Regions from separate parts of the Homo sapiens genome. Here regions 1, 2, 3, 4, 6 and 7 are each linked to region 5. The links are contacts of gene promoters, found by promoter capture Hi-C in blood cells and fetal thymus (Javierre and others, 2016). All regions are on one chromosome and are shown on one strand. Each heading gives the region's core, a stretch centred on a gene start or on the middle of the fragment in contact. The rest is flanking DNA. Distances are from core to core; before and after follow the strand shown. Region 1 has its middle 48 kb from the start of GC. Region 2 overlaps ADAMTS3 (ADAM metallopeptidase with thrombospondin type 1 motif 3). Region 3 has its middle 69 kb from the start of GC. Region 4 overlaps ADAMTS3 (ADAM metallopeptidase with thrombospondin type 1 motif 3). Region 5 holds the start of AMBN (ameloblastin). Region 6 holds the start of LOC107986285 (a long non-coding RNA gene). Region 7 has its middle 240 kb from the start of NPFFR2.

What was found. Contacts are between HindIII fragments. The CHiCAGO score rates a contact against its expected background, and 5 or more counts as called.
Region 1: a fragment that was not itself captured here is called in contact with the fragment with the promoter of AMBN in region 5 in 4 of 17 cell types (total B cells, fetal thymus, M0 macrophages and 1 more); the score reaches 6.9 in total B cells.
Region 2: a fragment that was not itself captured here is called in contact with the fragment with the promoter of AMBN in region 5 in 9 of 17 cell types (naive CD4 T cells, fetal thymus, naive B cells and 6 more); the score reaches 9.1 in naive CD4 T cells.
Region 3: a fragment that was not itself captured here is called in contact with the fragment with the promoter of AMBN in region 5 in 2 of 17 cell types (M2 macrophages and fetal thymus); the score reaches 6.6 in M2 macrophages.
Region 4: a contact is called between a fragment that was not itself captured here and the fragment with the promoter of AMBN in region 5, in 4 of 17 cell types (total B cells, non-activated CD4 T cells, M2 macrophages and 1 more). The highest score is 7.6, in total B cells.
Region 6: a contact is called between a fragment that was not itself captured here and the fragment with the promoter of AMBN in region 5, in 1 of 17 cell types (fetal thymus). The highest score is 6.3, in fetal thymus.
Region 7: a contact is called between a fragment that was not itself captured here and the fragment with the promoter of AMBN in region 5, in 1 of 17 cell types (total CD4 T cells). The highest score is 6.6, in total CD4 T cells.

The regions. Positions count from the first base shown.
Region 1 is chr4:71,734,161-71,737,453 of GRCh38, forward strand. No RefSeq gene overlaps it. Among named protein-coding and RNA genes, the nearest start is that of GC, 48 kb to the right of the region's middle. The HindIII fragment of the contact is 395 bases long and covers 1,750-2,144 here.
Region 2 is chr4:72,296,505-72,299,903 of GRCh38, forward strand. It overlaps ADAMTS3 (ADAM metallopeptidase with thrombospondin type 1 motif 3), which reads right to left. Exons shown (of 22, transcript NM_014243.3): 18 at 1,773-1,938. Among named protein-coding and RNA genes, the nearest start is that of NPFFR2, 270 kb to the left of the region's middle. The HindIII fragment of the contact is 4,703 bases long and covers 1-3,399 here.
Region 3 is chr4:71,713,803-71,717,272 of GRCh38, forward strand. No RefSeq gene overlaps it. Among named protein-coding and RNA genes, the nearest start is that of GC, 69 kb to the right of the region's middle. The HindIII fragment of the contact is 7,070 bases long and covers 1-3,470 here.
Region 4 is chr4:72,314,158-72,317,836 of GRCh38, forward strand. It overlaps ADAMTS3 (ADAM metallopeptidase with thrombospondin type 1 motif 3), which reads right to left. Exons shown (of 22, transcript NM_014243.3): 11 at 1,701-1,814. Among named protein-coding and RNA genes, the nearest start is that of ADAMTS3, 250 kb to the right of the region's middle. The HindIII fragment of the contact is 2,341 bases long and covers 781-3,121 here.
Region 5 is chr4:70,590,665-70,594,522 of GRCh38, forward strand. It overlaps AMBN (ameloblastin), which reads left to right and starts at 1,592. Exons shown (of 13, transcript NM_016519.6): 1 at 1,592-1,709; 2 at 2,663-2,731. The coding sequence starts at 1,695. The HindIII fragment of the contact is 2,262 bases long and covers 1,047-3,308 here.
Region 6 is chr4:71,591,738-71,595,057 of GRCh38, forward strand. LOC107986285 (a long non-coding RNA gene) reads left to right here and starts at 1,778. Exons shown (of 4, transcript XR_001741716.2): 1 at 1,778-1,958. RefSeq lists an enhancer at 1,318-2,027. The HindIII fragment of the contact is 272 bases long and covers 1,286-1,557 here.
Region 7 is chr4:72,274,967-72,278,346 of GRCh38, forward strand. No RefSeq gene overlaps it. Among named protein-coding and RNA genes, the nearest start is that of NPFFR2, 240 kb to the left of the region's middle. The HindIII fragment of the contact is 7,237 bases long and covers 1-3,380 here.

The DNA.
Region 1 (3,293 bases), core at 697-3,196, 1.1 Mb after region 5:
ATGACAAACCCACAGCCAATATCATACTGAATGGGCAAAAACTGGAAGCATTCCCTTTGAAAACTGGCACAAGACAGGGATGATGCCCTTTCTCTCCAGTCCTATTCAACATAGTATTGGAAGTTCTGGCCAGGGCAATAGGAAGGAGAAGGAAATAAAGGGTATTCAGTTAGGAAAAGAGGAAGTCAAATTGTCCCTGTTTGCAGATGACATGATTGTATATCTAGAAAACCCCATCGTCTCAGCCCAAAATCTCCTTAAGCTGATAAGCAACTTCAGCAAAGTCTCAGGATACAAAATCAATGTACAAAAATCACAAGCATTCTTATACACCAATAACAGACAAACAGAGAGCCAAATCATGAGTGAAGTCCCATTCACAATTGCTTCGAAGAGAATAAAATACCTAGGAATCCAACTTACAAGGGATGTGAAGGACCTCTTCAAGGAGAACTACAAACCACTGCTCAATGAAATAAAAGAGGATACAAACAAATGGAAGAACATTCCATGCTCATGGGTAGGAAGAATCAATATCGTGAAAATGGCCATACTGCCCAAGGTAATTTATAGATTCAATGCCATACCCATCAAGCTACCAATGACTTTCTTCACAGAATTGGAAAAAACTACTTGAAAGTTCATATGGAACCAAAAAAGAGCCCGCATCACCAAGTCAATCCTAAGCCAAAAGAACAAAGCTGGAGGCATCACGCTACCGGCCTTCAAACTATACTACAAGGCTACAGTAACCAAAACAGCATGGTACTGGTACCAAAACAGAGATATAGACCCATGGAACAGAACAGAGCCCTCAGAAATAATGCCGCATATCTACAACCATCTGATCTTTGACAAACCTGAGAAAAACAAGAAATAGGGAAAGGATTCCCTATTTAATAAATGGTGCTGGGAAAACTGACTAGCCATATGTAGAAAGCTGAAACTGGATCCCTTCCTTACACCTTATACAAAAATTAATTCAAGATGGATTAAAGACTTATATGTGAGACCTAAAACCATAAAAACCCTAGAAGAAAACCTAGGCAATACCATTTAGGACATAGGCATGCGCAAGGACTTCATGTCTGAAACAGCAAAAGCAATGGCAACAAAAGCCAAAGTTGACAAATGGGATCTAATTAAACTAAAGAGCTTCTGCACAGCAAAAGAAACTACCATCAGAGTGAACAGGCAACCTACAGAATGGGAGAAAATTTTTGCAATCTACTCATATACTTTTGATATTGAAAAGAATAGACATAGACAGTCAATCCATTGTTAGAAACTTTTTTACTTGAGTAGAAGCATTGTATGAATCCCAAGTGCCTTATCCATGGATGGGCAATAAGGTACTACTATTGTTAATTGCAAACTAGAATTTTCCAGAATGCTTTAGCTATGAAACTAGTAGCCTTGTGGTGGTGGTTGTCATGGAAGAAACAATTAGATGTTTTCTTGGCCTAATAGAGAGAAAAGAATATTTCAGGTCCTGGAAAAAATGGACAAGGATAAAATAGCCTCTGGGAAAGAGAATCTTTTGACCTGATTATCAATGACTGAGATCTGTTTAGTGGGAATAAGAGTTTATTTTATAATTAAGGACAAAAATACTCAAAATGCAGTGCAGACTGAGATAATACAATGTTGGAAATTTACACTTGCTACAGTTTCATTAGTTATGTGGCCAACCTCTTTAATTGGTTAATCTAAAGTGCTTTTCCCTTTCTAATTTGGGTGAAGGCACCAAGCTTCTAAAGCAGTGATTGGCAGGTTTGGTTGCAGGGCATGTTTCACTCAAGATAGCTTAAATCTGAATCTCTGAGGGGGTGCCTGGGCACTGGTATTTTTTCCAGAACTCTCCATATAATTCTAAGATGCAGCTAGGGTTGGGAATCACATTTATAGGTTGGGGAAGGATGAGACCTCTGTGTTGGGGAGAAGTGCACACCAGGGAGACCAGAGATGTAAAAACAACCTTCTAAGCCTTCCTATTTGAGCTATTTATCTCCAAATGGAAATTGGGTAAACTCTCAAGCTGATCAAATTCTTGCTTCATTAGGGCCTATTGCTATTGAATTAAATGACACATTAGAAAGGCCTTTCACTTGTTATGTTTTTAAATTAAAATCATCATAAAAAGAAGCTTTGTTTCTTTAGAACTTCCAGGTGAGATATTAATACTCTAATCCCGTGAAGACCATTTAAGGTGATGGTTCCCAGGTGATATATAAGAACGACTTGTGGGATGATCTCGGAATCCAGAGAAACACAGGAAGTCAATACTGCAACTTGAAAGACTTTAGACCTTATAGATGACAAGAGAAAGTTTGTGAGATAGTTAAATTGTATGTGCCAATTTGTCTAGGCTATGCTAATCATTTGTTTGGTGAAACATTAGTCTGGACATTGCTGGAAAGAGATTTTGCACATGTGATTAACATTTACCATAAGTTGACCTTAAGTAAAGGAGCTAACCATTGATAATGTGATAATCTGAGTGAATGTCATCCAGTTGAAAGCCTTAAGAGCAAAATCAGGTTTTTCCAGAAAAGAAGAATTCAACCTCAACACTGTAACGTAGAAATCCTGCTGGTGGGCTGGGTGTGGTGGCTCATGCCTGTAATCCCAGCACTTTGGGAGGCCACGGCAGGCAGATCATGAGGTCAGGAGTTTGAGACCAGCTTGACCAATATGGTGACACTCCATCTCTATTAAAAATACAAAAAAATTAGCTGGGTGTGGTGGTGCACACCTGTAGTCCCAGCTACTCGGGAGGCTGAGGCAGAAGAATAGCTTGAACCCAGGAGGCAGAGGTTGTAGTGAGCTGAGATTGTGCCACTGCACTCCAACCTGGGTGACAGAGCAAGACTCCGTTTAAAAAAAAAAAAAAAAGAAATCCTGCCTGTGTTTCTAGACTATTTCAGACTTGCCAGCTTCACAACTGCATAAGCAATTTCTTAAAATAAATCTCTTTATCTCCTGCTGTTTCCTTGGAGAATCCTAACTGATAGAACTTGTAAACATCATTCTTAGAAACAAATTTGATATGGTTTGTCTGTGTCCCCACCCAAATCTCATCTTGACTTCCCGTGTGTTGTGGGAGGGACCCAGTGGGAGGTAACTGAATCATGAGGCCAGGTCTTTCCCATGCTGTTCTCATGATAGTGAGTAAGTCTCATGATATCTGAAGGTTATTATAAGGGAGAGTTTTCCCACACAAGCTCTCTTTGCCTGCCGCCATCCATGTAAGATGTGACTTGCTCCTGCTTTCCTTCTGTCATTAATGTGAG
Region 2 (3,399 bases), core at 782-3,281, 1.7 Mb after region 5:
AAGAAAAAACAATATTTGTATACCTTGCATCTAGATTGATCTTTTGTGACTATGTCACATTTGCTATATTTCTTTATATATGTGTATGTGTGTAAATATACATATAATTTTGCTGAACCATTTGAAAGTTGAGGACATCCTGATCCTTCACTCCTAAATACTTCAGCACAGATTTCAGAAGTACATTCTCTTATATAACTATAATATAATTCTTAAAATCAGGACATTTAACATAGACATAGTGCTATTATCTAACATACAGACCTATTCAAAAATGTTCAGTTGTCCCTATCATGTTATTTATGGCAATCCTTTTCCAGTCAAGGATCATATGTTGCGTTTAACTGTTATGTCTCCAGCCTCCATCAATCAGAAATAATTACTGAACCTCTTTTTGTCTTACGGCATTTACTAGTTTTGAAATTTAAAAACTATTTGTTTTATAAAATGTTCCGAAATTTGGGCCTGTTTAACTGTGTTCTAATGATGAGATTCAAGGGATTCATTTTTAGAAAGAATGCTACATAAAGTGATGTTGTGTCTTCAGGGCAACATGTTAGAAGACTGAAGGATTTTAATCTGGGAAATAATATAATTTTACCATTCATTCATGCATGCATTCAAGAAAAATTACCCTGTAAATTAAGGAAGAGAAGAACATCAATATTAGTTGACTAGTTAAAAGGCTATTGCAATAATCGTCCCTCCCAAAGTGGTGACTGGAGTCTGGTGAAGAAGGAATAGATGTGGTAGATATGAAGAAGGTATATCTGACAAATATTATGACCAAGTAAATGTTGAGAGTACAGCAGAAGGGAGGGTCCAAATTAAATAAGCATCTTGTAATGGATAAAGAGATGTCATTTAAAATACTTAACTATTGTATTCTTCCCTCAAGAAAACACTTTAGAAATACAGCCTTGAACTTAAAATTATAAAATAAATAATTTACACAAGCACTGCCTAATACAAATTTTGTTCTCAATTATTTGCTGTCATTTTTGTAACAGCCTCTTGCCTTCTCCTGCCCATGGTGGGAAATTGGTAATGGAGCACTTGTTTAGAACTAGAGGAATGGATGATGGGAGAAATTGAGAGACATTAAATCCAGCTTAATGGACTCTGGAGAGGGAACGGAGGCAGCACAGTGCAGTGAGTGAGAGCATGTGTTCAGAAGCCAGGTTATCTGGGTTTGAATCCTATGGGCTCTGGGCAATTATCTTCTGTGTGCTTCAGTTTTGCTACCACTTTAACAGAGATAACAACAGTACCAACTGCGTAGGGCCATTGTGAGTATTCATGCATTGATATATAAAGCATTTAGAACAGTATCTGGTTTCAAATACATAGCATAGTCAGTTACACAGTCATGTAACCAATAGCTCTTTTGTTATTAACTCTGGTAGAAATGCAGAGAGATACAGAAAGCAAAAGTAGGTAAGAAGAAAGATGAGGACCAGAGTACACTGAATTTGGGAGAGTTTTGGAGTTTGGGAAGAATAAAGTGATTAAGGGTACCACTACAGTAAATGCAAGACAAAGGACCTGAGAGAAAAGGGCAAGAGGATTTTAAGGTCTGTCACTGTTATGAAAGGAATCCTATGATTTGGTGATTCTGAGATTTCAGTAAAAATGTTTTGTATTGATGTTTTGATGGTTATGTTTGGTGTTTCTCAGATTGTGGCCTCGATTAGAGACAGCAATAAAGGTAGAAGCAAGATTGGTTTTTATATGCATTACATTTTAATATAATAAATGTGTTCAATGGTTACCTCCACCACAGGGTTTGGAACACTGAGACCAGCTCTTCAAAGCCCACTCAAAAGTATCTAATTCTTCCTGGATGACATTGTTGCTGTTGATTGTAGGTACAGAGTCTTCATGGATGATGTACTTATATGTCAGGCTAGAGCGGGTATCATTTTCTTGAGGTATAATCTAACATACACATGAAATCAATATGTAAATCACCTGAGGGTTTTAAATTTTGAGTGTAAAATTACAAATATTTCAGAATATTGCTCTTATTAAAACTGAAAACTTTCAAATAGTTTCAAAAATTATAATGTTTTTATTTCTATAAACCATAGTGCAAATGTGCCCTGTTTAAGAAAAAGATGAAGTATCTATAAAACTTTTAACATAAAAGTGTTAAAAAATACATACACTGAGGAGTAAGAGTTTGTATTATAAAAATAATAACTTTATAAGGTTCACTGTAGGTTTCCTTAAATTATATCATCTCCTTTTTAAAGGATTTTAACTTTTAAGTGTAAAGAATTATAATTAAAATTAAAGGATTAAAATTTTTAAATTAAAATTTTTAAATTTTTAAATTTTTTGAATTTTTAAATTTAAAAATTTTGGTGCATTTTAAAATTGTCTTCAACGGAAATTGTTGTGTTGTGATGATAAAGATAGTAATGTTCCCTCCAGAAAATATATACATTATGGAAAAATAGAAAGAAAACGAAAAATCATAATTCTACCTAACTAGAGAAAACCAGTCACTTTTATTATTGTGATAGTCCCTCAAGATATTTGCATTCTGTGTGTGTGTGTGTGTGTGTGTGTGTGTGTGTGTGTGTGTGTGTGTACAGACATATTTACTTTCCTGGCTTTGTTTATTTCATGTAACATGCACATTTCTCAAAATATTCTTTGAAAACATGCTTTTGGAGTGTGGAATGATGGTCATTGGAGACTCAGAGGGGTCAGAGGGAATGGAAGGAGGGCTGAATGATGGGAACTTGCTTGGTGGGTACAATGTGCATTGCTCCAGTGATGGATGCACTGAAGGCCCTGACTTTACCACAATGCAAGATATCAATGTAGCTAAATTGCACTTGTACAAAAAAAAGTTAAAAAAAGAAAATATACTTTTAAATGTCAGCATAGTCTGTAATCCTAAAATTGTTATGTATTATTGTTAATAAGTGTGTGGTAACTCTTCAATATTTGTTTTCATTAGAAATTTTCCCAACCTTTGTGGGGATTTCTGGCGTTTCTTAGTAGACTGAAGGGAACAAACACTTTTTATAATTCTAGTTCTTCTGATAGACTGGTGAATGGTCCTCCGGAACAGTTAGAACAATTGTTACTTTAATAATGAGAGTGTATGAAAGTGGCCATTTGACACTACATGTTACATAATTTTCACCTTTATTAATTGGATGGGAAAAATATCATGATTTTAGTTGTTATTTATTTGATAACTAATAAAGTTTAATTTTCCTAAGTTTATTACTCACATATTTTAAACACTGTACATTGCATGACTGTCCTGGTTTTTATTGGAACTGTACACATTTTTTCTCTCCTAATCTGTGCACTAAAGATATGAATTCCTTTTTGTAATATGAGTTGCAAATATTTTCTCAGTTTGTCTCTTGCCTTTTA
Region 3 (3,470 bases), core at 213-2,712, 1.1 Mb after region 5:
ACCTAGTGGGTCAATTGAGTAATTTACATTTTCAAAAGCAGTTTCAGATATTGCATATTGAGCAGCATAAACATACACACACACAAAGAAGGAGAATACAAAGAATATGGGGTGAATAGGGATTTTGAAGATTCTCTAGTCTATTGCCAACATTTTGCAGATGGGAGCGTTTGAGTGTGAAGAATTGACAGGCTTCTCCAAGGTCACACAATAAATATAATGGAGGCAAAACTGGGAGTAAAACTCCAGTCTCTTTGGTTTTGGTTCAGTGTTCTTTTCCTCTGGTACTCTATAAATAGGAAAGAAAAGGTTCTTTCAGTTAATGGAATCCAAAATCAAAGTATTTGCCTGAAGTATTTTGAGGCTTTCAGCACACATATATCATTCAACTTTCTATTTTGGCAGTCAAGTCTTGGTTATATTAGTGGAAAGGAAAATGTTTGTATGTAATAGGGACATATATCTGTATATCCATATTTATATACATTTATGTTTATATACCTGTACTTATAATTATACCTATACTTATATACCTACACTCAGAGTGCTCCTAAAGTTGCTAGGTTCTTGTTTACATTCCTGTTAGCATCTAAGCATAAAAGATATAGGATGTTTCTTGATGCTGTATCCTTAGATACTAACAGGGATGAAAACAAGAACCTAGCAACTTTAGGAGCACTCCAAGACCTGAGGCTGCCAGGGGTGTTGAGGAAACCAGAAAAGAGTATAGCTATCCCCTTATTGAGTCAACATTAGGAAATACGTCTGCTAATATTGCTCATTCTTATTCACTGAAAGATGCCTCATAACCTCCAAAAAGGCCTATAAGATAAAAGTAATTCTTAGTCTATTTATCTTAGGCTAATACTAGAATAAATTTCCATTTCTTGGGCACGTAATAACTTGTGATATACTGGAAGTAGGCTGGATGGCAGTAGAATGCTGTTCAGTATTTTTTTAAAAAATAGTTAATAAAACAGATGAATAGACTGTAAATAATCGAGTATATATTGTATAAAGTATGCTTCATGCCATTATTGTCATAGTGGTAAAGGAGTTTTATAACAAATTTTAAAGAAGCTGATTTCAAAAACATTTTTATTTCTATTTTTGATAAATTTATTTTGCATATGAAATAGCACATAAGATCTACCATAATACACTTTTAAATATTCTTAAGAACTGGTTTGTTGTATCTATACATGAAATGGACCATTACTTAAAATGGTGGGTCCTTCTTTGTCACATTTGTTAGATTCTTTCTTAAAACAATCTATCTTGGGAAGTAAGAACTGTTTGACTGTGTTCTTTTGAAAGACAGCAGGGGAACTAGGGCAGAGACAAACATGGGCTCCTCTCAGGAAAAAGCAGTCCTTTTTTTTCTTGGATGATTTCTAAAATGTCCCATATGGAGATTTTAGAGAATTTCTTGGTTTTTCACCCCTTTTTTACATGCTCTAGGTATGCTCCTCCAAGACACTCTCATAGGTGGAAGCCACCATCAAGCATCTTGCCATCTTCACTGTACTCATTTGTCATCATCTTCAATTTTGCAGGATTGTAAACACAGTGAAAAATTTCAATATACATTCAGTAATTTTAAAATGACAATGAGAGAAAGAAAGAAAGATAGAAAGAAGGAAGGAAGGAAGGAAGGAAGGAAGGCAGGCAAGCATTAAAACTTTTAAACCCAAACAAAAATACACAAAAGGAATCTGGCTGCTTGTTTGGATACATAGGTAGAAAAATGTCTTTCTGACCGAAGCAAGAACAATTTCCTCCATTACAACTTTGGCCATCATTTAGATAAGCTGCTTTTCTTTAACCACTATGCCTAATAGGCAGAGATAGGGCAGGATCTAGTTGAGATCCACCACCATCATTTAACTTGTAGCCAATCACTTAATCTCTGTATGTGTTAGTTTCCTAATATAAAACTGGTGTAATTATTATAGCTATCTTACAGTTTTTTTTGGTGTGTGTGAATATGACATACTGCAGTTAAAGTGTTTAGAACAATGTTTGGCACATAGTAAACAATTTTAAGCTATTAGAATAACTAAGAATGGGTTGCAGTTAGTTTTTTTTCTTTTAATTTTAAAAAAATTTTTGCATACATAGTAGTTGTATATGTTTATGGTATATATGAAATGTTTTGTTACAGTCATGCAATGTGAAATCATCACATCATGAAGAATGGAGTATCCATCCCTTCAAGCATTTCTCCTTTGTGTTACAAACAATCTAATTACACACTTAGTTATTTTGAAATGTACAATTAAGTTAGTATTGACTATTATTGACTATTATAGTCTCCCTGCTGTGCTATCAAATAGCAGGTCTTATTCACTCTTTCTACTTTTTGTACCCATTAACCATTCCCAGCCCCCCGCCAACCCCTCACTACCATTCCCAGCCTCTGGTAAACCATTCTTCTATTTTCTATATCCGTAAGTTCGAGTGTTTTGATTTTTTAGACCCCACAAATAAGTGAAAACATGCAGTGTTTGTCTTTTTGTGTCTGGCTTACTTCATTTAACAAAAGGATCTCCAGTTCTATCCATGTTGTTGCAAATGACAAGATATCATCCTTTTTTATGGCTGAATACCACATGAGTACCCTGTGTGTATATGTACCACATTTTCTTTTTAAAAAAATTTATTTTAAGTCCCAGGATACATGTGCAGAATGTGCAGGTTTGTTGCATGGGTATACATGTGCCATGATGATTTGCTGCACCTATCAACCGGTCATCTAGGTTTTAAGCCTCACGTGCATTAGGTATTTGTCCTAATGCCCTCCCACCCCTTGCCCCCAACCCTCCGACAGGCCCCGGTGTGTGTTGTTCCCCTCCCTGTGTACATGTGTTCTCACTGTTCAACTCCCTTTTATGAGTGAGAACATTCAGTGTTTGGTTTTCCATTCCTGTGTTAGTGTGCTGAGGATGATGGCTTCCAACTTCATCCATGTCTCTGCAAAGACATGAACTCATTATTTTTTATGGCTGAATAGTATTCCATGGTGTATATGTACCACATTTTCTTTACCCAGTCTATAATTGATGGGCATTTGGGTAGTTCCATGTCTTTGCTATCACAAATAGTGCTTCAATAAACATACGTGTGAATATGTCCTTATAGTAGAATAATTTATATTCCCTTGGGTATATACCCAGTAATGGGATTATTGGGTCAAATGGTATTTCTGGTTCTGGATGCTTGAGGAATTGCCACACTGTCTTCCCAATGGTCAAACTAATTTACATTCCCACCAACAGTGTGTAAAGTTGTTCCTATTTCTCCACATCCTCTCCAGCATCTATTGTTTCTTGACTTTTTAATGATTGCCATTCTGACTGCTGTGAGGTAGTATCTCATTGTGTTTTTTTTTTTTCATATGTTTGTTGGCCAAATAAATATCTTCTTTTGAGAAGTGTCTGTTCATATCCTTTGCCCACTTTTTGATGGGG
Region 4 (3,679 bases), core at 701-3,200, 1.7 Mb after region 5:
TCTGTCACTACCTATATCATACCAGAATATTTTGAGGGCTACATGATCTTTTTAAAAATGATAAAATAAACTATGTCTTGGTTTAGATAATAATATAACATGTCTAAAACATATGCAGCTTTCAAAGCACTTTTATTTAACTTTTAAAATGTTTCATTAACAATGATTCTGAGAGATAGATGGGTCATACATATATCATCAACAATTAGATGAGGAAAATTGAGGCCCAGAAAGGTTCATAAGTAGTTGAAGGCCATCTGACCAAGAAGTAATTAAGTGGGGCTACCAGAACCCTAATACTATAGAGGCACCTAGCTTACAGTGCCTGGCATGGTGCTCAAGAGACATTAGCCATTTTCCTCTCTAACATTTTGACTTACTTTTTCACACTACGTACAATAAAAGCATTTGTTAAAACTCAACTTCTATAAATTTCAATATAACACCAATATATTTAAGAAAGTTGAATGTTAAAAAGTTAATTATATAATTTTTTATAAAGCAAAAATGAATTAACTCGTTATACTCTTGTTTTTAGTCAGAAGTTTATGATATTGAATTTTCCCAAAGCAAAACATTGTATACAAGGTGCTTTGCATAGTGCCTAATATAATGCAAACACTTAAAAAGACAGGTTTTATTATTATTATGCATATAATCCCTGTCACAAGTACAGTTTATACACATTTGAAATTGAGCTTTAAAAGAAGTAAATGCCATATAAATCTTCTGTACCAGGTTTTGGTCCTGCCTACAATTTCTTATTTCTAAACTAGTCAAAGCTTTTCAACTTGAGTTCTTAACATGCCTTTGTTTTGGGATCTTTGCCCTTATGAGTAGCATAGCTTGGCACTCAGCCAATTTCTGAGCATTCAATCCTGACTACACAATTTGAGATTTAAAACCTCTGGGCATCCTTCCCTAAGGAACAAGGCCAAATCTTCTGTATAAGTTCACATGACTTTATTTCTGGGCAACTTTCACAAGGAATGGCATGCCAGCAAGTCAATCAGATCCCACTACCAGGGGGCAGATAGTCTGCTGAGTTGCTTCTTCCTATTCTGCCAACAGTGGGCTGAATGGTAGTCCCAAAGATATCAAGTCTTAATCCCCGGAACCTGTAAATGTTACCTTATTTGGAAAAAGGGTCTTTGCAAATGTGATTAACTTAAATATTTTAAAATGGAGAGATTATCCCAGATTATCCATGGGGTCCTAAATGCTGTTACATGTATCCTTATAAGAGAGGGGTAGAAGGAGATTTGACCCATAAAGATGAGGAAAACGCAATGTGGCCACAGAAGCAGAAACTGGAGTGGTGCAGCCACAAATCAAGAAATGTGGGGTGGCCACCAGATGCTGGGAGAAGCAAAGAAAAGATTCTCCACTACAGCCTTTGGAGGGAGAATGGCCCTGCCCACACACTGATTTCAGTTCATTGAAATTGATTTTTGACTTCTGGCCTCTAGAACTGTGAGGGAATAAATATCCATTGTTTCAAGCCAACAAGTTTGTGAAAATTTGTTACCTTAGCCACAGGGAACTAGTACACTATTTTAGTACATTACTTTAATAAAGCCTTGCATACTATGGTTTTCATAAAAATGACAGTGCAGCTGTGTTTACCATTTTCCAGACCTTTAAAGATGATAATTATGCAACATATCTTACATATTTATTGTGTAAATAGATATACTCACTTTTCCAGCAGCACATTCAGTCCCATCAAGTGGAGGTCCCTTTTTAGTCTTACAAAAGTAGGGATTATCAGGATGGCTACACCACAGCTGTTTACATGGGTCAAAGGTTCGGAACTGGAAGATAGATAATCAAATTGTCAGTGAACTCTCAGCTAGCATGACATGCACCAAAAATATATTCTATACAGTTTCTTCTGTCCTGTTTCTTGGATGTGTTTATTTCAAGTTAATAGCCAATGTTTTGACATGTTGAAAAAAAACTGCATAAGAATTTCAGGTAGAAAATACTTTTATTCTGCTTTTCTAAAATAACAATGATAAACAATGATTTGTCTGAGATTATCTGGTTGACTTTTAAGGTTTTTGCTTGCTGTTTTTATGTTTTGTTTTTCAAATAGACAATGTTGAAATTTTCTAAAGACTTAGTAATTATCATGAATATTGTAAATATGAAAATATAATGGTTTGGCAGCTCTCAAGCTATCAAAATGTCTTTTCTTTATCTCTGTAGGTATCAGATAGATAGTTGAATATAAATAATAAAAGGGCTGGGCACAGTGGCTCATGCCTGTAATCCCAGCACTTTGGGAGGCTGAGATGGGTGGATCACCTGAGGTCAGGAGTTCAAGACCAGCCTGGTCAACATAGTGAAACCCTGTCTCTACTAAAAACACAAAAAAATTGGCCAGGCATGTTGGTGCATGCCTCTAATTCCAGCTACTTGGGAGGCTGAGGCAGGAGAATCGCTGGAACCCAGGATGTGGAGGTTGCAGTGAGCCGAGATCAAGCCACTGTACCCTCCAGCCTGAGTGACAACAGTGAGACACTATCTCAAAATAATAATAATAATAATAATAATCATAAATACTTATAATTAATTGACTAAAAGCAGAAAAAAATTGTCAAACTTTCTGTGTAAGATAAAGTATTCTAGGTACAACAAAATATCATAATACATTCATATAGTTTATGAAATATTTTCCATATATTTGATTCTCATACCAATCCATTGCTGAGAAATATGGGTTACAAGTTAGGGCTATAGTTATGGTTATAAGTAAGACAGCAACAGCACAAGACTAGAGTCTTGGTTTTCATACTCTTCAGAATGGTTTTTATTTTCTGAACACACCACATTATAATATCCAAATGTTTGTATAAGCAAACATGTGTATTTGTGTGTTCTCTTTGCTTGTTTGCTCTTTTTCTCTCTAAATGTAAACATCTTACCAATCATTATATTTTTAAAAATATCAAACAACAGCTAATCCACATATCTATTGCCTATACTGCTAATTACCTACATACACCCTTATGTGCATAGAAATTTTTTTATTAGTACACATTTTTAGATGTGGGTTTTTTGTTCTAATCCTTATTATCGAATGTGGAAATTCCACTTTTCCATGACATTAAGCCAAAGCTTTAGAATTCTCTGATTTAAAACATTAATGCAAGTAATTAGGAGCTCACAGTGTATACCTTATAGACAGACCAAATGGTTGTATATGGAAGGTTTCAAACAGCAGATCAATTTCTTTCTAGCCCCATGAAACACTTACGTTCCTTGCTCTAACACCCAAAGCTTGCTCCAACATAGAAAAAGGCCTTCTTTTTTTTTTTTTTTTAATGAATTACTAAAGACCAATGTGGAAATTTAATGAAATATACATCTAATGTGAATAGTTACAGGCAAGACTGGCTTTAATGGATTCCATTTAACATATATACGTGCCTTTCTTGTGCTAAGCACTTTAATTATATTATCAAATTTAATCCTCACACCAATCTTATCAGATACATACTATCATTATCCACATATTACACATGAGAAAGTAGTCCAGAGAGATTAAATACGGTGCCCAAGTTTATATATTTAAAAAGCATCAGCTGGGCACAGTGGCTCACGCCTGTAATCCCAGAACTTTGGGAGGCCAAGGCGGGCAGATCACAAGGTCAAGGAGTTTGAGACTAGCCTG
Region 5 (3,858 bases), core at 342-2,841:
AAGCTCAGGCTGGGCGTGGTGGCTCACGCCTGTAATCCCAGCACTTTGGGATGCCAACACAGGAGGATCACCTGAGGTCGGTAGTTTCAGACCAACCTGGCCAACATGGGGAAACCCTGTCTCTACTAAAAATACAAAAAAAGTTAGCCGGGCATGGTGGCGCAGGCCTGTAATCGTAGCTGCTCAGGAGGCTGAGGCAGTAGAGTCGCCTGAACCCAGGAGGCGGAGGTTGTAGTGAGCTGAGATCACACCACTGCACTCCAGCCTGGGCAACACAGCGAGACTCCGTCTCAAAAAAAAAAAAGACTAGCTTGTGGTCATTAATTATTATCCTTACATAACAGAAGAAGGAACTGGGGCTCAAAAGAGATTAAGGGACTGCATCAAGCACCAGAGACAGCATGAAAAATAATACTTTTCATTTCAATAACATTTTGCTGTTTGCAAAACACATTCACATTCTTCATTTCTTTGCATCCTAAAGATAATTCTGGTATCAGTGGAACACAGAGGTTTTCAGGAGCAGCTTCTAAGATAACATTATTTGAAGCTGTTAGGCCTACATTTGGGTATGGATACAGCTTTCTCTCAAAATACCAGCTTCCTCAATGTTCCCTGTAATTGACAAGATCCCTACTTCCCTAAAGAGTGTACTGACTCATCCCTTCTTCAGAACTAATCTTAAATGCTTATCCCTACCATATCTGAAATCACAACTTTGGAAAGACAAGGATGGGCAGAGAAGTAACAAAAGCAGCTAATATTCAATCCACATCCAAGATATTATCTGTTCACGGAGAAAAACCAATCTGTGTTGACGTTAACCTTTTAAGTGATCGAAATATGTCTTATTAACCTGGCTTGATACTAATGCCTGGGAATGTGTCTATCTGAAGAGTGAACTGACACTTGTGCCCATTGATTTGGTTCATAGAGAATGTTCTGATTTACGTCCCCGTCCCCACAGATTTTTTTTAAAATGCACCAAACGTTTACCTGAAGTAAACCTGATTCTTGCAAAGGGTCCAACTGTAGTTTCTTACAAAAGCTTGGCTATCTCTAATCAATTATCTCCAGATATGAAAATATCTAGGAAATTCAAGGAAGAAATCACACACATTAATTTTCCATCTAACATTTTAGTGTTTTCTTTTAAACTCTGTGTGTGCTGGGGGGAAGGACAGTAGTCTCTTTTACTACAACAAACAGGAGGGTGAAAACCTGAAGAATGCTAGCATTGGGTCACTAGCTTTATCTGCAGATAAAACCTGCACAAAACAGGTTTTGTTTTGCACCTATTTTACATATATTTTCCCCAGCTCACCAAAATAATTGTCTTCAGAGCCTATGTCCATTATTCCTTTACTGCCTTCCCTGCTATCAAGTTCTCTGAATAAGTACAGGGGCTGCAGTACAATTAAAAATAATGAGACCCTACTGGGCCAATGTCCCTGCACGCAATAAAAGGGTGTGGACTAATTGCAGGAGCAGAGATTCCCGCCCCAACTCCCCCCCGCCACCCCTCGCCATTTTGCTTCACTTTGATTGGTGGATTGGCACTTTAAATAAAGGTTTCTAATCTTCCCTGAATGAGAAGTACAGAGCAAGTCCCACGCACAGTCCTGAAAAAAATTTTAATCTTCTTTTCTTAGAACTATCTTGGTTGGCATCATCAGGCCCTGAGAGCACAGTGCATGTCAGCATCTAAGGTAAAATGGGATTTTATGATTTCCATGTGTTTCCTGTAAATTCTTTTTTTCCTATCTCCTGACAGCTTTTATAAAGAGGATTTATCTTCATTTGTCACCAGTAGCTGAATTATTGCTTGTTGTAATCCATTAGCATGTCCCAGAGATGACATGCCTAACACCCATTCAACTAAGAAAAAAAAAAAGACTTTTATTTATAGATTGTGTTTTTTTTAATGTTTTTGATTATAGTGCCTAATTCTTTTTAATATTAGAAGATGAGTAAATTTCTAGGCTATTCAGATCTCTATTCATGTAAGAATAAAGAGCTTTTTGAATTTATAGAATAAATTTTAAAAGATAATTCATTTTAGGAAGAGGAAAGCTAAATTTGAGACATATTTTCCACTAACATCAAAGAAAATTAAGATAGCCAATTTACTCTCATTTGAAAAGAAAAATTTTGTCATGGTTACGTAGATTACCTAAACATGCAATGATGTACCCTCTATTCCTGCAAATAAAGGTTTGTTATAAAATGACTTAGTTGCATTACATTTCACATGCATTTCAAAATGTGTCCCAAAGGGTAAGCAAAGTATAAACTTCTGTGAATAATACCTTATAGACCAATATTTTACTTAGTGGGAAGGATTTTTAAACTCATAATTCACTTTATGAAATGAAATATATCACAAAGAATATCGATGGAGGTTGTTCCTACATACTTATTTAGGCTGTAGATCCATTTAAAACGTGCTTAGATATTTTTTAATTGCTTGTTAATTTATTTCAGAAACTACTACATACAAATCGGTTGTTTAGTAACATTTAGTTTTTGTTTTTGTTCTTCTAACCTTTATCCCGGTGGTTTTTGTAAGAGCAGAGACTCAGGCTCATTTTCAAAAATTGTCTTTTAACCATTCTGAATAAAAATTCATCTGATTTAATTCTCCAACTTAATTATGTTTTAGATTCCACTTTTCAAAATGAAGGACCTGATACTGATCCTATGCCTCCTGGAAATGAGTTTTGCAGTGCCGGTAAGTCAGTCTTTAGAGTGTGTCCCAGAAAAGGTTATTGATTGTCGAACTCCAAACAACACTGAAGGGATATGGACTGAGAGTCCACGCATAGACTCACTTGATTTAATCCAGTGGTTTAGTCCTATTGAGTCAAAAGCCATAGTTGCTCAGATGTCAGTCTTGCAATCCAAAAGCGGTAAGTGATAGCCGGGTGCGGTGGCTCACGCCTGTAATCCCAGCACTTTGGGAGGTTGAGGCAGGAGGATGACCTGAGGTGAGGAGCTTGAGACCAGCCTAGCCAACATGGCTAAACCCTGTCTCTACTAAAAATACAAAAATTAGCCAGGCGTGGTGGTGGGCACCTGTAATCCCAGCTACTTGGGAGGCTGAGGCAGGAGAATTGCTTGAACCTGGGAGGCGGAGGTTGCAGTAAGCCAAGATTGTGCCACTACACTCCAGCCTGGGTGACGGAGTGAGACTCCATTTAAAAAAAAAAAAAAAAAGCAGTAAGTGAAGTATGATATTTCTACTAAAAAGTTATTTAAAATAGTCCCAAGACAATTTCTAGATCTTATTCCACTCATTCAAAGTTAAAAGCTTAGATAGTCTCCACAATGCATGGCGAAATTTTATTATCAACTTATTGCTATCATTATAAAGTTGAAATGGAAAGAGGAAATTTCTTTGAAAAAAATACATTTTCTTCATTTCAAAAAGAACTATCTCTAAATTTCTATGGTTACAAAACTCAGCTAGATAATTCCATTTAAAGCTAGTAATTAACTAGCAAATTTACCTTGTAAACATGAAATTGTGTGACTGAGAGCTGAAGTTTCATAAATCAAAACATATCATAGTGATGGGGCTAATTGTGTATTACAGTCCCACACCTGATCCATTCTAGTATATATTGAAATGATCTCATACAAACACAATCTTTTGAACACTGAACTACTCCAGCCAACAGCATGCAATTCTGTTATCACAAAAACTTTATTTGGCTGCTATATGCATTTAGCAAATATGTTGAGCAGCTGCCATGCATCCAGTAAATAAGACATGGAAAAATGAAAGTAAATAAGACATGATCTCTTGTCTCCAGTAGCTCACAGTTGGCCTCAAATGAACTTTAGAGTATTTTAATT
Region 6 (3,320 bases), core at 172-2,671, 1.0 Mb after region 5:
TATAGCCAGTTCACTCTTCCCATGTCTCTTCTTACTCATAGGAGGTTTTAAGAATGGGCTGTGTTTCAGAATTATACAGTCAGACTAATTACACATATTTATGATTGGATGCTAAGATTAATTATTATAAATTCCAATCTTACTGCTTCCTAGAATAGCTTGTCATAAGATCAGAGTGATCATCAGAGTGATCATCATGAAGCTGTGATTCAATCCAAACAGCGTGGAGTCAGAGTCTGGCCCTTATTCAATAATCCATGTGAGATATCTACAAAAAACAGGGTAAGGAACCTGAGATTGGCAAGGGGAGGTGTATTGTTTTAGTAACATGGTCAGAGAAGGCTTCTTTGTTGGGGAGCATATGAGCAGAGACTCAGATGAAGTGTGACCTCTGCTGCCTTCTCACACAGAATGCACTATAAGGTCATTAACCTATTATCAGTTTCCATTTTATCTGTTATCTTTCAATTAGATGGCTCTCCTATCTCCCTCAAGATCCTATTCTGGCAAAAAAACATAGCTTCAGGCATGGGTACCTGTGCTGTAACCTACTTTCATGTTCTCTCTTCTTATTTATATGAGTCCGTTGCTCCCTCCCTCATTCATGGAGGTAGTCATGCTGACCTGTAGACTAGTCTCACAGCACCCTCAACAGGGATATTAGGAAATAGATAAATGAATTTAAAGTATGATCCCAACAGACTCACATGAGTGTCATGATAACAAGAAAATGTACAAAATGTTTTCTTGATCAGGACCACAGATAGATGACATAGGAAGAAGGCAAAGTCACAATTCAATGACTTCATGTTTCTGTCCAAGGGCACGTTGGACCATGCCGATCCCATATATCTTGTGTGGAATGGTGTCCACACTATAGGACTCTGACCACCCATCCAGAGTTAGAGGCAAGAAAAATGCGACAGAAACAAACTGGGTATCTCAAACAGGCAACAATTTCCCAAGAAAAAAAAATATTTAAAAACTAAGATGATCAGATTTTAAACTAGTTTGGGTCTAAAGCGGAAGGGAATGTCTGCGTAGAGCTCTATAGAGGCATGTCATTTCTTTTCTGAAGTGGGCAATTTTAAGATTAGTTAGGGCAAGACAAGTAAACTAGTATATTTCAATAGTTCCTACCAATAAATATTTGTTTAGCTCCTGCTGTGTTAGGAGACCTTTTATTAGTGAGGGGCTCGCAATCTAGTGGGAGAAGATAAATTTGACTGCAAAAATGCAGGAAGAGCTATTACCTTATCTCTCTTCTAGCTTAGGAGTCTGGGAAAGCTTCCCAGCTTTGCTTATTATTCCAAAAAGCAAGCACAAGTTCCAGGTTTCTTAGCCCACAAGTCTGCTAGTATACATGACATCTAAATGTAGATCTTGAAATTTTCATGGTCTATTTCTAAGCCTGTTGCCATTATTAGAGGCTCCCTCTTTGCCCACCTCCTCAAACACTTTCCCAACAACAACCTCCTCCCCCAGCTGAAGCCAAACTACCATACCCTCTCTTTGATTGTAAAATTTCTAGTGAGAAATGAGATTTACTGTTAGTTAAGCTTCTTCCCAACCTATGTTCAGGGACTCTACTGATCAATTACCTTTGTTCTGCTAGAGAATTTTCTTTAAGTTTCCTCTGTAATTTCCAGAACTAGAGGTGCTTAAAAGTGACCAAGTTGTTGGCTCTCTTTGTATCTCCAAACTTAAAGGAGAGTGCTGTATTTGCTTTTCAAAGCAAGTTGAGAATTGACATCTTTGTGATGTTGATTCTGCTAAGAGGAAGATGGTATACCTTTCCAAGTATTCATCCCAGCCCATTGTTTCTGACTTGTAGGGTTTCCTTCCAAGCATCAATGATTATGTGTGGCAAGACAATAAGGACATCTACATGATTTATTACTCATATTTTCCACCATTGAAGTCAGCTTGGGAAGCAACAACTTGGCAGGACTCAGAAGGTCTGTTTCCCTCCCTTTGATGCAGAGGTTTTAGGTAACTCTTATACTTGTCATATCCTTTATCTTTATGATATCATTCTTGTTCTCCATGGCAAACCACCCCCTAAATCCGGCTTAGATCTCACTTACCTCAAAGTGGAAGGAATAGATATTTCTGACTCTGTCTCTAATAAATGTTTATTTCATTTGCATGTGGTTTTCTCACTATGGGGCTGTTACAATAAGGAGTTGGTACTAGGGCTGGGGTGACTATGGGTTGAGATTGTTTAGTGTGACTTTGACAGATCCTTAACTCAGCTTGGTCTGTTCTTAACTATTGTGATTAAAGTATATGAATGATTCTAGATCCTGCCTGCCTTGTTTTATCTATTTTCCCTAAGTTCTGACTGGTTGGCACACTGCCACCTGGATTTGTTTATTCAACTCTTTCTATTTATACTGTCTGGTGTTAAATTACAACTTCTATCATATAGATGTCTCCCCTGACATCTTCCCACAAATTGCTGGCCATCTGTGATTAACTGTAGTGCATACTCTCTATTGTTACACCCAAATGTAATTGAATTAACAATCTGAGCAAATGCCATATTTTAATATAGCCAAACACAATTATATTAATAATTTAAGGCTAGTCCCTTGAAATTTTTAAATAACTAAACTTATAACACATTTGAATAATTTGACTCTGTTAACAGGTGCATAGTGTAGTAGAAAAAGCCCTGCTCAAGGAGTCAGTCAGGCTTGCATTTGACTTTCATCTCTGGCAGTTATTATCTGTTGCTTTGGAAATTTAGACATATTTCTTAAATTTTTTGAGCCTTGGTAATATCTTCTGTAATGGAGAAGAATAACAGAGACTTTATGCATTGGAATTGAATGGGAAACATATGTGAGAGCACCTTAGTGCCTGACATTGCAGCTAGTACATATAGGCAGTTGGGTGTATGGATATTGGTGTCACCCTAGGCTTTGAATCCTGGAAATGCTATCCAATTGTTATGTGACCTTGATAAAGCTATTTATCTTCTTTATTTCTCAATGCCCTCCTATATTAAATGGGGATAAGTTTTCCTGTCTTAAAGGGCTGTTCTATGGATTAAGTAATATGATGAAAGTAAAGTGCTTAGCACAATACCTAGCAAGTTAGTAAATGTTCAATACCTGTTTGCTCTGTTAATATAAGCTATTTCATAACTATTAATAGTTGTGCAAGAAGTGAAATTACATATAAATTTGACAAAGGGAAGCTTCTCTCTGTAAAATAAAAGTCCTTTGAAACAAAAACAGTAGACACTGTGCATTATATGACTATTAAAAAAATAGGCTCAATTAAACAGCCTAATCCATGATCACAAGCCATTG
Region 7 (3,380 bases), core at 792-3,291, 1.7 Mb after region 5:
ATTCACAAGGATGGTAGAGGAGAAAGGAATTCATTTTATAGGGGCTTAAGAGGCTAGGGTTAATTTTATGTGGGACAACAAGGATAAAAAAATAGAAATATCTTGGATGGGATTTGTGAGCTAGGAGTATAAAAAGTGGAGTGAAGACCACGAAATATGAAAAGCAGAAAGCATAGATACAATTTGGTTTGGCATGGCATGGCTTGAATAGGATAGTGACACACACAAAAGAAAATCTGAGGGCAGGGTGAGTATAACATTGGAGAAGTCCCCAAAGAGAGGGAGACAATCACAAGGCAATTATGATAGTTCCAGACAAAGCCTATTGTGAACTAGGCAGAGACAACAGGGACAAAAAAGAGGCAACAGAGGCACGAGACATTTTAGAAGTGAAATAAACAGAACAAGGGAGCTGTTTATATATGCAGAGTAAAAGACAAAGAAAAGAATGATAGTGAAAAAGCATGGCTGGTTTTTGGCAAGGCTGATTTTAATGAGGAACACAGAACATAGGACTAAGAACTAGGTTTCTTGGAAGGGTAGTAATCACTTGGTTTTTAGAAATGCTGAAGTACAGTTGTGACGGCAGAGGTAAGATGTTCAGCAGACATGTGGGAATGTGTTTGTGGTTTGGTACAGATGTGAAGGCTTACTCATGGAGATTTGGAATTAACTTTATAAGAGGTCATGAAAGATGGAGGAGCCAGCCAATGGGACTGAGAATGAGGGGTCAGAGAGTGTTGCCCTGGATATCCTACAAATTCCCATCTGACATATAAATTATGTAATACCAGACTGTACAATAGCAAAGTCTATAATATAAAAATTTACAATAAAATCAATTGTAATAGTATCCTTAAAAATACATTTTTAGGCACATGAGCTCATTTGATTCACACTAGAAGTCTGTCAGATAATACTTTCATTCAACTTTGTAGATGAGGGAACTACATACTAAAGAAACAAGTCCTACGGTTCGTGAGTGGAAGGCAGGATTTAAACCCAAGTTGCATGAGACCAAATCCTGAGTTCTTCTCACCAAGGCCATGTAATGCTGGAGAGAATCTGGGAAAAATGAAGGCCAGAGTTTTTATACCGACCCACGAGATTGTGTGTGATTTCTCATCTCTTATTTCCTTTTATCTTCTCCTAGTGACCCCATCAAGCATCATATCCACTTCACTGTCCTTGTTGCTGTTCCTTGCACTTACCAGACATATTGCACTTTAGGGCCTTTGCACTGGATGCTGCTTTTTCCTGGAATGTTCTTCCCCAGAGATTGTAGAGATAATTTTCTTACTTTCTTCAAGTTTTTCACCCTCTAAATGAGTTCTACCACTACTCTCCCACTCAGTACTGCACTATGCTCTTCTTAATCACTTTTTAACATACTTGATATCAAAACCATGCATGGTGGTTATTGTTTGCTGTGTTTCCTCCACTACAATGTACCCTCTATAGGACAGCAGGAATTTTCGTTATTTTCTCACTACTATATTTTAAGCACCTAGAATGCTGTCTGGCACACAATCAGAGCATAATAAAAGTTTGTTGAATCCATGAATTCTCCAAGTGAGAAGGAGTAATTAGGAATGACTTTTGAGAGTGCTTCTTCTGTTGTGTTCTTGGGGTAGAATACAGGCTGCAGTGGGCCCCAGAGTGAATGCTGGTAAGGGTAGGAAAGAGGAGAGGCAGAGAATGTAAGCCAGCCCCTTGAGAAGTTTGGTGGTGAAGAAAGGAGATCAGAAAGTGGGTCAAGAAGCAGAAACAGAGTCAAGCAAAAGTTTGATTCTTTCTTGTATGATAATGCAGACCTGGGCCTGCTTGAAAATTTAGTAAATCTGTATAAGAAAACACTAAAGATTCAAGTCAGAAGAACAAATACGAAGGGAAGAAAATCATAGACCTGGCTATATGGCTGAAGAGACTATCCAGATCACTCACATCATTCAAGAACATTTCTAATGGTCATGAAAACCCAGAGCAAAAGCAGATGGAATCAGAGTGGCTGCTGCTTCTAACAACTGAATCTCCATGTTAGGAATGTTGTGGAAATTAACTAAAGCATTCCACTAGACGATATGTTGCTATCTCCACACACCATGCAACATCTGAGATGTAAAAATAAGCGTTGCAATGCCCCACTCTACACAAAACCAGAATATTATTTAATACATTCCATTATTTTGGACAGGTCTTCTGAAAAGGCTATAGAAATGTAACTCATTCCTGTTGCCAATATATACAAATGAAGATGTCCCTAGCATATAGCTGGACACATTTCTGGGTAATATGGTAGTTGCAGTAGGTTCATTTGGAAGTGCAAAGTACTTCACTCTTAGACCTTCACATATTAGCTGTCAAAATGCACACTTCAACTCTCTTCTTTAGGATGATCACACAGACACTTGCTGATCTTGGGATAATTGACTTCCCTTTCATTGGAGTCCCTTATTTTTATGGAATAGACGCGTCCTGGCTATGGGAGAAAAAATGAACTGAAAGTTGGAATACTAATCTCTCTTCTAATCCCAGTTACATCCAAATTCACAAATGAGATTTTGGAGACATTACCTTTGGGTCCTAATCCTATTCCTGGAAAAGGAAGAGTGCTAGGCTAGATAATATCTAAAGATCCTTTCCGTTTCAACACTAGCTAGTTCCTGTTCCTGTCAAACAAGTTAACAGAGACATAAAAAGTCTAAAAACAGAAGGGATACCACAGTCATAGCTCCAAGAAATCTGTTTTTGGCAGCAGAGTTTTTATAGAATGTAGTAGATGTTATAGTTACAAAGTTTGTGCCATGGGCAGGGCACAGTTCTAGGTACTAATGAATACAAAATAGATTTTCTTTTGTTTGTCCAGGGACAAAATGTATATAGTTCAATTACAATTAAAGGGTATATATGAGCCCTTCTTCCCTTGGCATATAAGACCAAGAGCCCCTTCTCCAGGTCCCAGAGAAAGGCTGTCATCAAGAGAAGAGGATTAACTTGGTGGCAGCAAGTCTGAGGACAATATCTTGTAGTACATGATGCCACCATAGAAAAAGCAGTTGCCTTAATCTTTGGAGTCATTTGCCAGGTTGTGCCTATTATGAAAAACCTGTTGCATTATATACATAGTTCATATAACTTTCTGCTTCTATTCTTGTGTTCCACATTCTTTTGGGCACATGGGATACTTTTGGGCAGAAGGGACTTTGTGGAAGTCATTTCCTTGGTTTAAAATATTCAAATGGAATCCTTTGAAGTTTGTTGATCATCCATCAAAAGATACATTTTTAAAAAATAGATATTCTGGAGAAAATAACAATTGCAATCTTTTACCAAACACTTAATGTCTATCCCATGAGGTACTGTGTTTATTGTTTTTCCAG